Linked DNA regions of Homo sapiens: region 1 is linked to region 2. Evidence: promoter capture Hi-C in 16 types of primary human blood cells and fetal thymus (Javierre and others, 2016). All regions are on one chromosome and are shown on one strand. Each heading gives the region's core, a stretch centred on a gene start or on the middle of the fragment in contact. The rest is flanking DNA. Distances are from core to core; before and after follow the strand shown.

Region 1 (4,587 bases), core at 335-2,834, 81 kb before region 2:
TGCATTTTAAAAGCTCCCTCTTCCAGACAAAGCTGCCAGTCATGAACACGTGGTGTCTGCCGACAAAGCCAGCCCCGTGGTCTGCTGTTGGAGCCAGCTCTTTTATTGCCAAAGGACATTTAAATGGAAAACAGCACATCTACCAGAATAAATGTGTCCTCAGGGAAGGAAGTGGAATTCTGGGCTATGCTGCCCCGACAACACCATGAACCAAAAATCTGACTTCATGGCCCCATTAGGGGCTGGTCTAGGGTGGAAAGAGAAATATAACGTCACAGCAGAAAGTTTGCAACTGAAGTTCATTTATTAAAAGACCTAAGACCATGTTCTCTTCTGGATATATAGTAGAAATGATGCTTTAGTTAATATTTTTAGTATTAATGGAATGAAATGAAATGGAATGGAATGAAACAAAATGTCATTCTTCTTCCTAGAAATCTCCAAATAGCCCATTTATGGTTACCTTCTGGCATGCCCAATACCAGTTTGCAGTTTTAGGCCCAGCCAGCTTAAGAATTACCTGAGGAGTCTGTTAATGGTGCGGACACCTGGGATCCCCAGGGTGGCCTGGAGATCTGAGCCAGGGGGACTCAGTGAAGCCCCAGGATTTGTGTTTTCCCTAAGCTCACCAGCCAGGGAACCTCTGCCCTGGTGGCTAAGCCTGGGTTTGCCTTTCCCTTGCCGTAGAGAAGGCTTGGTAGGACAAGCTCTGTGAAAATAAGCCCTGTTACACCAAATAAAATTTCACAGGGAATGTTAAGAAACACTGAATTATGAAACATAGAATATAGCAAACATTTAAGGAAATTAACTCATATGGGGATCTCTTCCCCTGGGCACAATTGTTACACTGGCTAGAAATCATTCTTAGCAGTTTAACAGGTCTCTTAAGGACCCCAACTAAACAAAAGGTTTGTTACATTGGCTCAAATTATTGTGCCTATTTAGTAACAATTCTGGCTAATGTGTCCCAAGGGCCCACTGGGTACCTGCTCTATGCTATAAGTTTTTGACACCCGATTCAATTTAAACCTCATCAGGATGGGACAGTATGATTCCATTTCACAGCTGAGAAAACTGAGGTTCAGCAAGATCTTGCCCAAGTCAAGGTCAGTATTCAAATCAAGGTCTGTGTGATCCCAGAGTCTATTAATCTCTGTGCTGTGTATAATAGGATCAGCATGGGATTTCTTCATTTATTGTTCTGTCCTACTGATATTCACACTGGCCACCCCTGGTATGAGCCAGATTTATTGAGGTTTCTCTGGGGCTTCTCTCAGGTGGGTAATGGAGCCAATTGCATGGCCTGCCATCCATCATTTCATGGAAAACAGGTTAAGAGGACACTAAGGCAGCTGTGACACGAGGAAATGTCACAAAATGACAACACATACCCTCATGGCCAACTGGCAGAAGCCAAAATGAAAACTGTGTGGAGAACAGTGGAGTGGGATGTAGCAAAATTACAGAAGTTCCTATCCTTGAGCTAGCAAACTGACATCTGGCAATTTATCCTAAAGAAGTAATCATGGCTGTGTGCAGTGGGTCAGCTAAAAGAATGCTCATTTCTGGGTTATAATAATGAAATTTCGAACCAATCTAAACCATAGGGAATTACTGAAATAAATTCTAGTACCTGCATACCATGGAGCACTCTGCAGCCGTTTCAAAGCTGCTTTGAGATGACATTCAGCCACATGGAAAGCTATTCATAATATGTTGCATATATGAAAACGGATTTAAAAAACCACAAAGAGGTATTAAATGAAACAAGCAGGAAGCCTCCGCACTTTGAATTCCTCCATAACAAATTACACCCTAACTTAGTATATAAACAAACTGAAACTTAGGAGAATACTTTTGGTAACAAATAGCTGGTTTCAGCCAATCACAAACAGCTGAGTTTCAGCCAATCACGGACAACCAATTCATCGCACCAGGCCCAAATAAGACAGATGTCTAGCTGTAGCCAATCAGGTGATTTATCTGCTTTGTTTCCATGTTCAGCCTATAAAAGCTCAGTGCTCATGCTCCTGGGCTCCCGGAACCTCTTCTGGTTCTGAGTGCTGTGGATTCGTGAATCATTCTTTGCTCAAATAAACTCTGTTAAATTTAATTTGGAAATTTAAAGTTTTCCTTTAACAGAGGTTATAAAGAATTCTATGAAGATGGTACTCTCATTTTGACAGTGAGAAAGATTTTTTTACTTGAAGAAAGGAAATACCAACATTTTAAGTGTCTAATGTTCATTATTCCTTTTCTTGCCTGTATTTTATTTATGTTTCCATGATGACTCTGTTTTACTTTTACAGGTAGAAAAAAATCCATAACTTTGTTCAAAGTAAGAAATGTTGGTCACAGACAACTTGAAGGGATTTGGATGGTGCATCTATATGAAACCATCTTCCCCCCACCCACTTCTTCTGGCTGTCTCACAGACCTCAGCCTTCTGCTGCAGTTCAGAGCTCCAGACAGTGCTAGTGATTCACTACATCCTAAACAGGGCTGTCTTAGAGTCTTCCTGGAAATGCAGAAATCCCCAGGCCATGCATGCCCCAAAGTGATGATGTCACAGGGAGTCTGGTTTCCCTGCTTGTCACTGAGCAATCCTAGGGTGCTCTCAACACATGCGCTTCTGATTCTCCAACCCTTGCTGCACCTACAGATCCCCAAGAGGAAGTTGAAGAGTCACCCAATCTGGAAGGATTCTCACGCCCTAGAGAGTCAGAAAAGGAAATGAACATGTGTTCTGCTTTCCCAGGGTCCATGGCAGGAGGGCTGCAGCGGCCTCATTTATTCATTTGTGCCAGGCACCCTGTTAATCATGGAGATACCACGCTGACCTGCCTTCAAGGAGACCATATTCTAGTAGGAGAGCTGAGCAGCGAGATGGCCATGTGTAGATGGTGCTATATGAAAGGTAAGCACAGCACACCCTGGAAGCACTTAGGAGGGACACTTCACCCATATTTGGAGGTTCTGAGAAGTTTTCCAAAGGACATAATGCTCAGCATTGATAGAAAAGAGAAGTAGGGAGTGGTCGTTGGCACAATCTCATAGAAGGAACAGGATAATGCTGGAAGATGCCTTTTCGCAATCTTCCATTCGTGGCTCACGAATAAGGGTGATTCTGCAGTCACTTACCAGATCAATAGGGTCTGAGGGCCCTGAGTCCTATTGTGGGGCCCCAGAACCCTGGTCAGTTGACCAGATAGAATCTGAGAAGAGCCAGATTCTATCTGGAATCCAGGAGCCCAGGGGAGGGAGGGTAAGCAAACTCAAAGCCAGGCGTCAGGTCTGACCAAGCCTCCAATCTGAAGGTGGCTGGGCAGAGAGGGAGAATCTGGGTGTGAGACTGTGGGTAGGGGTGGAGAGGGTGCAGCGGGAGGAAGAACCAGCTGCAGAGGGACAGCGGAGGGAGAGACAGAGGTGTGGCTTGGCAAAGTCCCCAGGAGAAGCCAGAGGTAGTTGCTGCTACTGCTGTCTGTCAGGGCTGGAATTGTTCTTTCATCCTCCTCAGCCTTTGGTGTCAGCAGGAGTAAACCACAAGCAGGCACAGAGGGAAAGAAGGGACAAGGATTGAAGAGTGGCATGACATTAAGCATAAGAGAGGAGATGGTATACATGACTTAATAAAGGAGGGCTGGAGATGAATGAAGATGCCCCTAAGTGGCATGGGGATTTCTGCATTTCCAGGAAGACTCTGAGCCACTCAGAGATTCAAGAGATCTGCACCACTCAGGGATTTTCTCCAAGGTCAGCTGCGTACCTCCCCACTTCCTGACACTCTGCCTCAATCCAAGGCTCTTTCCTAACCTGGATCCCGCCTCCCTCCCAGGGGAGTGTTTCCTTACGGTTGTATTTGGCACCCATCAGCATGCAGCAACCGATTGTCACTCAATTCCCAACCAGTCAATGAAGAAGTCCCTACACTGGGCTCACTCTGGGCTTGTTTCAATGGGACCACAGCAGTTGTCCCATCCAACATTACTTGATTTGTGCATTTATTTCCCATTCATTGCTTTTTCTCCCACTGCTTGAATAGAGTTAGTTATTTGTGGGAAGGACCCTGTCTGCCTCATTCATCACCATAATCCAATGCTTAGAACAGGTGCTGGTACATAGTATGTCTCAATTTAAAAATTACTGAATGAATGAATGAATGATTGTGTATAGGGGAAAAGAAAACAAGCTTCAGAATCAGATGCAGACAATCCTAGGATTGAGCCCAACTCCACCCCTGGGGTAACCTGTAAGCCCAGCATCCTGATATGTCAAATGGGATATGCAGGACTGTGGGTTTGCAAAGTGCCTCATATCAAATAAGTATTCTAAAAGGTAGTTATTTTATTTTATAATGATTATAAAGAATGAGGGGAATTGTGCTGTCATACCAGAGGCAGGATGGAGTGAGAGCCCACCCTGCTGACTGGGCAGAAGCACACAATCTTTATTGGTCAGGAAGGGGAGGAGAGAAGGAGCAGGACGAAATGGCTGGCTCTAAGGACCGCCAACCCATCACACAGAGGAAAGGGAAGCCTGAGCTCCCAGGTTGCTCTACTCTAGAGGGCAGATTTAGTGAGGTTT
Region 2 (4,736 bases), core at 2,224-4,723:
TAGTCAGATTTCTTAATATGTACTGTAAATTTGTGAAATATGTAGCATAAAGCACTTTCCAAACTTATTTGGCCATAAGAACATTGACTCTGTTCTACTGTACACCATCTATTAACATTGCTTGAAACAGCAGGGTTCACAGATCAAAGTCCAGGAAATGCTGTCCTAGGGAGAACACATGGAAAAAGCATATTAGGCACTCATTATTTGGTGCCTAACGAACGGCCATGCCCTCTTCTTCTTGGAGTCACAGCTTGATTTTGTTTGAGGTGTTCCTTTCCCCAGCTCCTGTAGTAAGTTCTGAGTGGTCCAAACTGGTCTTGGCAGTCCCAGTCCCCTTAGCTGTGGCTGCTGTAAGCATCAGCATGTGATGCAAATCTGGCCAATGAAAGGGAACTGTGCTGGAGGGATCTGGGAGGAGACTTATAAAAAGAGACTGTCTATATATGAGCACCTCTGAAGGTAATGATCATGAGGGGTAATAAAGAGAGTGAACATGACAGAGCAGAAAGATGGAAAGAGCCTGGTCCCTGACAAAATCTTTAAACCTCTGAATTAACTTTAGGGCTCTGCTACCTTGGATCTTCTTGTTTTTCCTTATTGTATAAGTTAAGTTGGTTTTTTTGTTACTTATAGATGTAGGCCTCATAACTGACACAGGTTATCTTTAAATACCCAAGAGTTGTTTTAAAAAGAATAACTACATATTCAGTGTAGTTTTCATGGTTAGAAATAGGACTCTTAGGTGAAAGCAATAGGGGAACAGATTTCAGCTAGCTGGTGAGAAGGAATTGTTTAAAATAGAATGGATTGACTAGTGAGACAGGAAGTTCCCCAGCATAAGAAATGTTTGGTCAGGGATAGATTATCCCTAGAAATATTCAATCACAGAAATTTTCTTGGGATAAAATAACTGAATATGTCTGTGAGGTGAGCGACTAAACATCATGACCTATAAGGTCTAATCCTACTATATGAATCTGTTTAAAATGAAGAAGCTTTAAGTCACAGAATCTAATTTATACTTTTTAATTTGGAATGGACCTTAGGGGCTTAGTAAGAATTTATAAAGACAATGAATTTTGCTGAATGTGACATAGTCTTGAATGGTGTGTTGAAGGGAAGGAAGGGAAGTAAAATTTACAGAGGTTAGACAACCTGATAAGCTTATTAATGTCAGGGATGGGAATTCAGGTCTGCTAACTCCAAAGTCGAACATAATTCATCTTTAGAGATCTAGTTCACTTACACTGAAAACATTTGTTAAGAAATAGAGAAATCCTAATTAGTGGGCAAAATTTACTTATACCCCAGCAGAAACACAAACTGGCTCTATCATTTATTTTATAACAATGACATGCAAACATTTTAGTGATTCAATACTTACCTTTTATCTTCTTCAACTCCGAAGAAATTGTGTTAATATTTTTAATTACTTTGTCCACATTTAGCTTATGATCAGTAACACGCTTCTTACCCATCTGATTTTAAAAGAAAAACAGAAACAATGTATAAATCAGTATTTATGTGTACTTTTAAAATACTTACATTTTCAGTATTTCTATAAATCTGTTATTTCAGAAATAATTATGAAACAAATCTTTATAAATGGTTAGAATTCTAACATCAAAAGGCATTAATGTGTTATGTAATATTTTTCCAACTAAAAACTCCAACTGGAATTTGTAGGATGAGGTTCCTTCCTCAATCAAACCATATCCACAAGATAGGGCTTACAATGGAAATGAAGATGTCCCCTTTTCAGAAAGCCTCAGCCCTTATAAACTACCTTACAATTTAGCGTTTGTGTTAAGATCTTCTCTAATTTTGTTTATGTAAGTCCATGTCTTTTTCTAACTTATTCTTGAATAACAGGGCCCACATATGATTTAAGTACACAGTGAAACTCAAAAAAGAATTTTATTCTAATTCATTAAGAGGATAATTCAATTATAATCCACTAAGAGTATGGCAAATGGCTGGTTTGGTTTTGGGAGTTAGAGTAACAGACATTTTAATTTTGGTTAACTGAAATGTATAAATCAACGCATTCCTATGTTATACAGTACCTGTATTTAACCAATTGTGTCAGATACAAATATACAGAGAGGTGGTTCACTAGAAACTAGTCTTAAGCTGTTCAGTCTCTCAAAATGACTTGAAAAACTCCATCTCAATTAGCATACACAACTCCAGCAGTGTGAAAGGTGGGCAGTCATGGGTCAAGCTGCTTGTCCAAAATAATGAAAACAAACTAACCTTTAAGTCAATCCTTGCCTCTACCTTTTCCTGAGCAGGGAGAATTTCTGCAATTTCTCTCATTTCAGAGCCACTGTAAAAAAACTAATTTTGTTTCCCAGACATTAATAAAATGCGCTTTGCATCTACCCCCAAGACCCCATTCTCCAGGATGTCAGCTGCCTTCCTTGGGCATGCCAAACCAAGAGTCAAGTTGCAGGGAAAAAGAAAGATGATATTTTAACAAGGGGTGGAGTGGTGGAATTAAAGAACTTCAAAAACAAGGCAAAAGTTTTTTAAAAATAGTAAAGTAGAAACTAAATGATTTTAGAGCCCAAGACAGTGGCCTCTCTCCACTCTGGTTCTCCTAGGCCCTCGAGCACCCAGCGCGTGGGTGGGGTGAGGGCACAGTGGGGTGCTACACAACAATGTAGCTGGGACTGGACTGGAGGCAGGACAGGTCTGGGTCAAGCCCTCCCCGGGGAGCTCGGCCAGGCCACTACCCAGAAAGGAGAGGCTGCTCCAACAGCAATTCACCGGGAGTGGGGAAGCGGAGACCAGACTGTAGGGGCCATAGGAATGGGGGGTCAGAAGCCAGGATGTCGCTGACTCAAGGCCTGATACCACTAGAGCGCCATCTCCGGGCCACAGGACGCCGCCCAGGCCCTCAGCCCGCAGCCCTGCAGAGCCATCGTTAGCACCGCAGGTTCTACTCTGAAAGCCCAGCCTCCTCCTTGGCCCAACTGACACCTGGGAGGAGCCCCAGATCTTTAGGGCCCTCAGCGACCCAACTGCCCATGAAGACCCCCCAGATCTTTGGGGCCATGAGCGGCCCAACCACCCGCTCAACAGCTAAAGATGGAGCCTGAGGCATCTGGAAGTTTCCACAGTCCTCGCCCTCCCAGACAGGATTTGGAATGAACCTTTGGGGCTTACTAAGTTTCTTGCCAAGTGGACAGGATTAGGGTAATGTAAAATGCCCTCAGAGTGACCCCGGCCTACGGACAGCCACCAGCCGCCAGGCCCACCCAGCCAACCGTCCCCTTCTCGGCCCAACCGACACCCAGGGAGAGGCTCCGAGGCCAGCCCGGCCCACCGCCCACCCGTTGGGTGGTGGAAGGTGGAGCCTCGGGCAGCCTGGAAATTTCAGCGGTCTTCACCCTCCCAAACCAGATTAGGATCCTTCAAGACCGAGCAGCCGTCACTACCCACCTGGCCAACCGTCACCGAGGTTCTGACAGGAGCAGGGAGCCGACGGTGAAGGCGAAGCCGCGCCCCCTGATTGGCCAGCTTCTCCGCCTGCGGCATCCTGGGAGTTGTAGTCCCAGGCAAGGCCCCTACGGAGAAGGTTCTGGATGCCGGGTTACAACTGACTCGCGCGGCCACGTTGGCGGAAAAAGCACTGACATTCCTTACCCCCAGTGTGCCAGGCTTTTGCAACCCTTATCTGCATTTGAGTCGCACAGGATAGCGGTAGCGTTAAGTGCAGACTCTGGAATGAAGCCACTTGGGTTTGAATCCTATTCTATCACCTGCTTAGTTGTATAGATGCAGATAAGCGATTAACTATTCAGAGTGCAGATGTCCTCACCTATCGTATGGAACGATAATAACTGCCTTCCAGTGTTAGTTTGAGGGTTAAGTGAGATAATTCATCAGAGGTGCTTGGCAGATACCAAGTGCTCCATAACTGTTAGCTATTATTTTTCCTATAACATTTTATAGGAATGATAATAGTAAAGAGTAGCATGAATAAAGAGATGAGTTGAGACATGGAAAATGGTTTTTTGCCAAGCTGAGAAGCTGGGATTCGAGCCGTCTTTTGCTTGACTCCAGAGGAATCTCTGCCACTGCAACCTTTGAGGCAGGCCCAAAGATTTTTCTTGGTGCCCTGAGAAATTGAGGAGTTTAGGCTTTCAGCACAAGGTGCTATACAACAAGTCTTTGCGTCTATGCCTCCCCTATAGTACACACCAGCCTCTTGAACCATCACCTTCCTGAAAGCCCACATCACAATTGTTGGGTATTTTATATCCAATTTCCTTCACTTTAACACTGCAGAATTTGTTGTCGAATGCAATTACCTAGATGAGGAGGGACAGAGGAGAACAGAGCTTAATGATAACCAGCTGTATGATCTTAGAAAAGAATATCTTCCTTATTCTGAGTCTCTGTTTCCTTATCTGTTTTCTATTGAGAGGGATGGGCTAAACCAGTAGTTCCTAAATTGTACTAATTGCTGGGCCACTGTTAAGATTCTGTGCTTATGGCACTCATATTATTATTATCTTCTCCTAAACACCTTATTGTCTCCTGTGGTTAACTACAGGGAGTTTCTAAAGGTGAAGAAGTTTTTAATGATAACCAGCTTTGTAAAATACGAAGCTATATTATTGCCTTCATATTTTAAATCTACTTATTTTTAAAATTTAAGTCTACTTAAAAATCTTTATATCACCAGTGTTAAATAGAATAAAACGTAAAGTCAGGCCAGGCAC

What was found. The method cuts DNA at HindIII sites, captures the fragments that hold promoters and counts their contacts. A CHiCAGO score of 5 or more calls a contact.
Region 1: a contact is called between a fragment that was not itself captured here and the fragment with the promoter of C5orf58 in region 2, in 1 of 17 cell types (non-activated CD4 T cells). The highest score is 5.1, in non-activated CD4 T cells.

Annotation. Positions count from the first base shown.
Region 1 is chr5:170,310,872-170,315,458 of GRCh38, reverse strand. It overlaps LOC100128059 (a long non-coding RNA gene), which reads left to right and starts at 2,743. Exons shown (of 2, transcript NR_147701.1): 1 at 2,743-2,920. RefSeq lists an enhancer at 2,774-2,823. The HindIII fragment of the contact is 5,220 bases long and covers 1-4,194 here.
Region 2 is chr5:170,231,722-170,236,457 of GRCh38, reverse strand. It overlaps C5orf58 (chromosome 5 open reading frame 58), which reads right to left and starts at 3,473. Exons shown (of 4, transcript NM_001102609.3): 1 at 3,451-3,473; 2 at 2,260-2,343; 3 at 1,388-1,481. The coding sequence starts at 1,481. The HindIII fragment of the contact is 4,262 bases long and covers 1,169-4,736 here.